Linked DNA regions of Homo sapiens: region 1 is linked to region 2. Evidence: promoter capture Hi-C in human tissues and cell types (Jung and others, 2019). All regions are on one chromosome and are shown on one strand. Each heading gives the region's core, a stretch centred on a gene start or on the middle of the fragment in contact. The rest is flanking DNA. Distances are from core to core; before and after follow the strand shown.

Region 1 (3,053 bases), core at 521-3,020, 64 kb before region 2:
TCTTCTGGGGGTTGAGGTCGGGGGTCACCTGAGACCAAGAGGTTGGAGGCTGCAGTGAGCCATGATAGCGCCTCTGCACGCCAGCCTGGGCAACAGAGTAAGAACTTGTCTCAAAATAAATTAATAAATAAATAAGAAGTGGGGCTGGATGCAGTGGCTCACACCTGTAATCCTAGCACTTTGGGAGGCTGAGGCGGGAGGATCACTTGAGCTCAGGAGTTTGACACTAGCCTGAGCAACACAGTGAGACCTCGTCTCTCTTTTCAATCAATCAATCAATCAATCAATGAAAAAAGAGAAAAAAGAACTGGGCTGAGGAGCACTTACAAACAATTTGAGGAACTTCAGAATGCGCTTGTGGGTGAGGATGTACAAAGTATTGCCTGATTCTGGGTCAATAACTGGCAGCCTGTGGATCTTGTTCCGAATTAATGAAGAGACAGCATCAAACAAGCTGTGAGAGGGTGGGAGATAATAAGTTCCACAGTGCTGGGGCTGGGGGTGATTAAACAGGTCCATACAGTGTATTGCTCAACAGGGAAAACTGATGGTTAGGGAAGGGGGGCAGTGTACAGGCCAGACTTAAAGAGAAAGAGAGAGAGAGAGAGAGTGAGAATGAGAGAGAGAGAGAGACTGTGTGTGTGTGTGTGTGTGTGTGTGTGTGTGTGTGTGTGTGTGTGTGTCTTTTCTCTCTTCTTCCCCTTTCCCTGGGTGTCTAGGGCATTAGCTAGGCTGATGACAAAATCTCTTCCGCTTTTTGGACAGATGGGTAACTGGAACTCACCTGGCATTAGGAGAAATGCAGACAAGCGGTTTAAAGGAGTCCTGGAGATACACCTCTGAAGGGAAAAGGGATGGGTCACAAAATACCACCATGGAAAAGTGTTTCCCAGAAACCCGCCATCCCTTTATCCTTTTATAACCCCAATTCTCTACATACCTCTCCAAGTTTCTATCTTGTGTTCTTCTAGCTCATAGATCTGTACCTGAAAGCAGAAGCAACAGAATTTGAGACCTGATCTCTCTGCTTCCTTAAGCCCTCGTGGCTTGCTTGGAGAAAAAGAAATGAGAATGAGGGATTTAGGGCAGGGAAAGTGATTTTGGTCATTGGGTTAAGGTTCCTTACCAAGGCTGATTTATAGTAGCGGTGCAGGATATTGATGAAATCAGTGATGGTCAGCATGCCTAGAGGACAAGACAGAGCCCTCAGCACTGCCTGAAGCTTGTCTCCCTGCCCAGCACAAGATGCCAATAATATTGTGTTCCAGAAACTTTTGCTTACCCACAAAACTTTGCTTCTTACTATCCCATAAAGGGGCAGCTCGTACACCGTTAGTCACCAAAGCAAAAAAAGCTTTCTTCACCTGTAGCCAAGACAGTAATAATCATAAAGGCAAATCCACAGGGGCAGGACTGTAAAAAAAGAACAGTGTTTGGGCATGTTGGGTAAAACATGAGACTAACTTCACAGAAGGATAAGGATATTACCCTTAGGATGAGATAGGATGAGAGGTATTAAACCACAGGCTCCAAAGGGGGAAGGGAAAAGAGGATTTCACCCACCTGCAGGGACGTATCAAATACAACCAATTTGGAGCTTGTGGGAATCAGGTCATAGCAGCGATGAGACTTCATGAAGGAAGTATACACGCTATTGTTGGATTCTGGGGTCTCTGCATAGGGTGGGATAGTTAGTAGCTTCCTTCCACATAAAAACTCCCAATCAAAAGAGACAGAAAACAAAATAGTGTTCTAGTATCTCAAATATTTAGAGCATTATTTTTTAATAAGACCCCTTATTTTATCTGTCTTGTTCCTATTGTTTCCACAAAACCTGGATAAACCTCTTAGAAACCATTTCATCCAACCCCTGTCTCCAGGTTAAGACTTTATCTATTGGTCCCTATAGGTAAAAGAAGTTGACTAAAACATAAAGCCTATAGTATCTCTCTTTAACATGTTATAGTCTAAAAATGTTTCTCATCTTTAATCCAAGCTTTCCCTTTCATATACTTAGCACATTTTCACTTTCCTCTTTTTTCAATGAAGTAAGCTTCTTAAAATTCTTCCAAGACTGTGCTGGGGATGGTGGCAAGCACCTGTAATCCCAGCTACTCAGGAAGTTGAGGCAGAGGATCACTTGAACCCAGGAGCTCGAGGCCAGCCTGGGCAACACAGCGAACCCCTGTCTCAATTAAAAAAAAAATTATTCTAAGACCTGCAAATGGGAAAGTCATGGTCCAAGTTGGGCCATTTCTCATTAACAATAAGTTGGAGCCCAGTGCTCAATCAACCTGGCTCAAAACACCCTGATAGTCCATTCTGGGATCACCCTGTAAATCAGAAATCATCCCACCTACTCTAGACAAATGGGAGATCCTGGCTAGTTTACCTTTTTCTATTCCTGTGATTTTAATTGCTTGCTCTAAACTAGGGAAGTAATCTCCCAAAATAATAGCTTGAATGTGCTACATACTATACTACGTGCACTTAAAAATATTACATTGAGGCTGGGCGTGGTGGCTCATGCCTGTAATCCCAGAACTTTGGGAGGCCAAGGTGGGAGGATCACCTGAGGTCGGGAGTTCAAGACCAGCCTGACCAACATGGATAAACCCTGTCTCTATTAAAAATACAAAATTAGCCGGGCATGGTGGCGCATGCCTGTAATCCCAGCTACTCGGGAGGCTGAGGCAGGAGAATTGCTTGAACCCGGGAGGCAGAGGTTGCGATGAGCCGAGATCGCAACATTGCACTCCAGCCTGGGCAACAAGAGTGAAACTCCGTGTCAAAAAAATAAATAAATAAATAAATAAATTACATTGGCTGGGCGTGGTGGCTCACACCTGTAACCCAGGACTTTGGGAGGCCAAGGTGGGTGGATCACCTGAGGTCAGAAGTTTGAGACCAGCCTGGCCAACATGGCGAAACCCCGTCTCTACTAAAAAAATATAAAAATTAGCCAGGCGTGGTGGCACGTGCCTGTAGTCCCAGCTACTCAGGGGGCTGAGGCAGGAGAATTGCTTGAACCCAGGAGGTGGAGGTTGCAGTGA
Region 2 (3,327 bases), core at 180-2,679:
CTCAGTCTCCTTTGTAGCTGGGATTACAGGCGTGCGCCACCATGCCCAGCTAATTTTGGTATTTTTAGTAGAGATGAGGTTTCACCATGTTGGCCAGGTTGGTCTCGAAATCCAGACCTCAATCCATCCGCCCGCCTCAGCTTCCCAAAGTGCTGGGATTACAGGCATGAGCCACTGCGCCCAGCCTCCCCTTACATTCTTAACCTTGGGGGTGACACAGATAGATCAGCTCCAGGGAGTTATCCAGGTAACTGGAAAGACACGCTAAGGTTCTTAATGTCTACATCTAAACTATCCCAGACTCAATATCTTGCAAAATCCATACTCTAGCCATCCATCGAACAGGATTGCTAAAGAAGAAATCAGATGTAATGTCTAAATAAATCAGCCCCTTGGCACCAGAGAAATAAATTATGGAGTTGGGTGGGGTATCCAAGCCCTCCGGGTCGCATACCACCAGCACACTAGGGGAGAAGTCTACTCACTATTCTCCACTGTAGGATCGTAGCCTTCCGAGAACTCGCCTTCCACAAATTGATGTGCCAAAGATGTCTTCCCTGTGGGGAGCAGTGTGACAGTTGTATCCAAATCATCCATCCACATTCACATCCTCTGTCCTTTCGGACTGTGGCCCAGGACCAAAGGAGACCCCAAATTAACACCACAGTCTGTGAGTGCCTCAAGCAATGCTATCCTTTGTGTCTACCCTCACCCTCTTTTCACCCAGGGTCTCCGCACTTTGGCTACCGGATGCATTCAGAAGCGCAGCAGGAAGCCTTTCCCGCCGCCTTCCCCACCCCATCCCACTCGTAGGAAGATCCAAGATTCCCTAGGATCAAGTCCGCCCCGCCCCAGGACACCTGCGACTATCTGTCCCCACGGAGACCGCGTCCCGGTTTTCAAATTGTGACCCCACCCCTATCCCCAAAGTAACGCTGGGACCACTCTGAGATTCCCGCAGCCAGGTCCGCATTAACCCTTAAGTGCTCCCGCTTCCTGCAGCCTCCACACACCACCAACTCTTCCAATCCTCCACTCTTCCATTCCTCCACTCTTCCAATCCTCGCTCTACAACCCCATCCTTACGATGTCATCATTCCTCCCTGGGTCGCGTTCCCACGGCAGCGCGCCTCTTCTGGCTACAAAGCTGCTGCGCGTCCGAGCTCTGCAGGGCGGAGACTCACCTACACAGCGGTATCCGAGGATGACCACCTTCCTGTAGCGGACTAGCGGCATGGCAGGAGCCCGCCCCAGGGGCTTGCGGAACTGCGGGCTCAGAGAGCCCGAAAACGAGGTCAGGGTGTGAGCAGGCGCGGCAGCTGGTGCAGGAAAGTCGCTCACCCCGAAGCTGCCGTGGGCAAGTTAGAAGGAAACCAAAACAAGCGCCGCGCCCGGAGCTGCCCACGTGATCACAACACAGCACGTCTAACGCCAGGGAGCCGGGCGCCCGGGGAACTACTGAGCCGCGCCGCGCCGGGCTCCGCCCCCCAGGCCGCTCGCCATTGGTCCATTAGAATGGGTAAGGGCGGTGCCGCCAGCAGGAGGGAAGGGTGGGCCTCACGTGGAGCGGGAGAACTGGGAGCTGCGCGTGCGCAGACTGGAGCCGGTTCATTCATAAAGAAACAGAAAGGAACCCGGGGTCCTAAAGGCGTTTGCGCATTTACAGCCTAGCTGAAGTGGCTTCGAAGAATTATGGATGGAAAATACCCGTTTTGTGGTTTCCGGTCATAAGATTCTAGCCCTCCCTTTTGCATGGTCTCTGGGGTCCTTAGATAGGGAGAAAACCGCCAAAGTTCTAGTATATTCCTTCTGCTTCCCCCAGCCTTCAGCCCCAGACCTATCAAGGTTTCCAGTCTTCCAGCATCTAATTTCAAACTGCAATTCTTATTCTTGCAGAAATTGCTAGAATTTATGATCAAGTAGTCTGAGGTTTCTTCTTCATCATCATGATCCTCAAATATTCATTTTTCAACAAATACTGAGTATATACTACATGTTTCAGGCATTGCTCCAGCTTTGGGGTCAGAACATGGACATCACAGACAATGTGTCTGCTCTTATGAAGGGAGAAACAAACATACAACAAGGAAATATCAGAGAGTGTTAAGTGCTGTAGAAGATGGTGTGATGAAAGATGACCACTTTATTTTTTTTATTTTTTTATTTTTATTTTTATTTTTTTTGAGACGGAATCTCGCTCTTTCTACCAGGCCGGAGGGCAGTGGCTCTATCTCGGCTCACTGCAAGCTCCGCCTCCCGGGTTCACGCCATTTTCCTGCCTCAGCCTCCAGAGTAGCTGGGACTACAGGCGCCCGCCACCGCGCCCGGCTAATTTTTTGTATTTTTAGTAGAGACGGGGTTTCACCGTGTTAGCCAGCATGGCCTCCATCTCCTGACCTCGTGATCCGCCCGCCTCGGCCTCCCAAAGTGATGGGATTACAGGCGTGAGCCACCGCGCCCGGCCGACCACTTTATTTTTTAAAGACAATACAGCATTTTTAATTTTTTTTCTTTATTTATTTTGAGACAGGGTTATGAGACTGGCTAATTTTTGTATTTTGGGGAGAGATGGGGTTTTGCTATGTTGCCCAGGCTGGTCTCGAACGCCTAGCCTCAAGTGATCCACCTGACCCGGCCTCCCAAAGTGCTGGGATTACAGACGTGAGCCACCGAGCCTGGCTGAGATGACCACTTTAGTGATACTTTCTCTCATAGGAAACCCCATTTAAACTAAGATCTGAAGGAACCAACTAGGAGATTTCACAAGAAGAATCCACCAATGCTAAGGCGTTAAGATGGAAATAAATTGGGTAAATTCCAGGAAGAGGGGAAGAAAAAAAGAAAGCCAGTTAGCCTAAAGCAGATGAAGTCTAAGAGAATGGCAGAGGCCAGGCCACATAAAGGAGTCTGGGCTAATTCTAAGTACTTGAAGGTATTTAAGCTGGGGCATGACATGATCTAAATTGTCTTTCTAAAAAATCTCCCTGGCTGTAGTGAATAGATTGGGGTTTGAGGGTAACAGGAGCAAAAGGAAGCAGGGAGATTGGCGAGGAAACTGTTACCTGTAGTCCAGGTGAGAGATGAGAGCGCTTGACTAGAGTGATCATGTTGAATGAAGTTGAGAATTCAGGATATTCTGAAGCTAAGGTTAAAATGACTTGTGGAAGGATTGGTAGAGGAGGGAAGAAAGGAAGGAAATCACCTAGATTTATAGAGAGTTCGACTATACTATGTGCCAGGTGCATTTTATTGTTATCTCATTTAATATTCACAAAAGCCCTAGGCCGGGCATGGTGGCTCATGCCTGTAATCCCAGCACTTTGGGAG

What was found. The method cuts DNA at HindIII sites, captures the fragments that hold promoters and counts their contacts. A contact is called where the count stands out against the background at its distance.
Region 1: a contact is called between a fragment that was not itself captured here and the fragment with the promoter of RHEBL1 in region 2, in 2 of the 25 tissues and cell types used here (hippocampus and mesenchymal stem cells).

Annotation. Positions count from the first base shown.
Region 1 is chr12:49,004,180-49,007,232 of GRCh38, forward strand. It overlaps PRKAG1 (protein kinase AMP-activated non-catalytic subunit gamma 1), which reads right to left. Exons shown (of 12, transcript NM_002733.5): 3 at 1,564-1,673; 4 at 1,283-1,364; 5 at 1,127-1,185; 6 at 941-986; 7 at 785-839; 8 at 328-454. All of the region lies in intron 1 of DDN-AS1 (DDN and PRKAG1 antisense RNA 1), which reads left to right. Among named protein-coding and RNA genes, the nearest start is that of DDN, 6.3 kb to the left of the region's middle. The HindIII fragment of the contact is 3,048 bases long and covers 247-3,053 here.
Region 2 is chr12:49,068,550-49,071,876 of GRCh38, forward strand. RHEBL1 (RHEB like 1) reads right to left here and starts at 1,430. Exons shown (of 8, transcript NM_144593.3): 1 at 1,185-1,430; 2 at 486-557. The coding sequence starts at 1,236. RefSeq lists enhancers at 1,144-1,453, 1,824-1,873 and a silencer at 1,474-1,593. The HindIII fragment of the contact is 9,146 bases long and covers 1-3,327 here.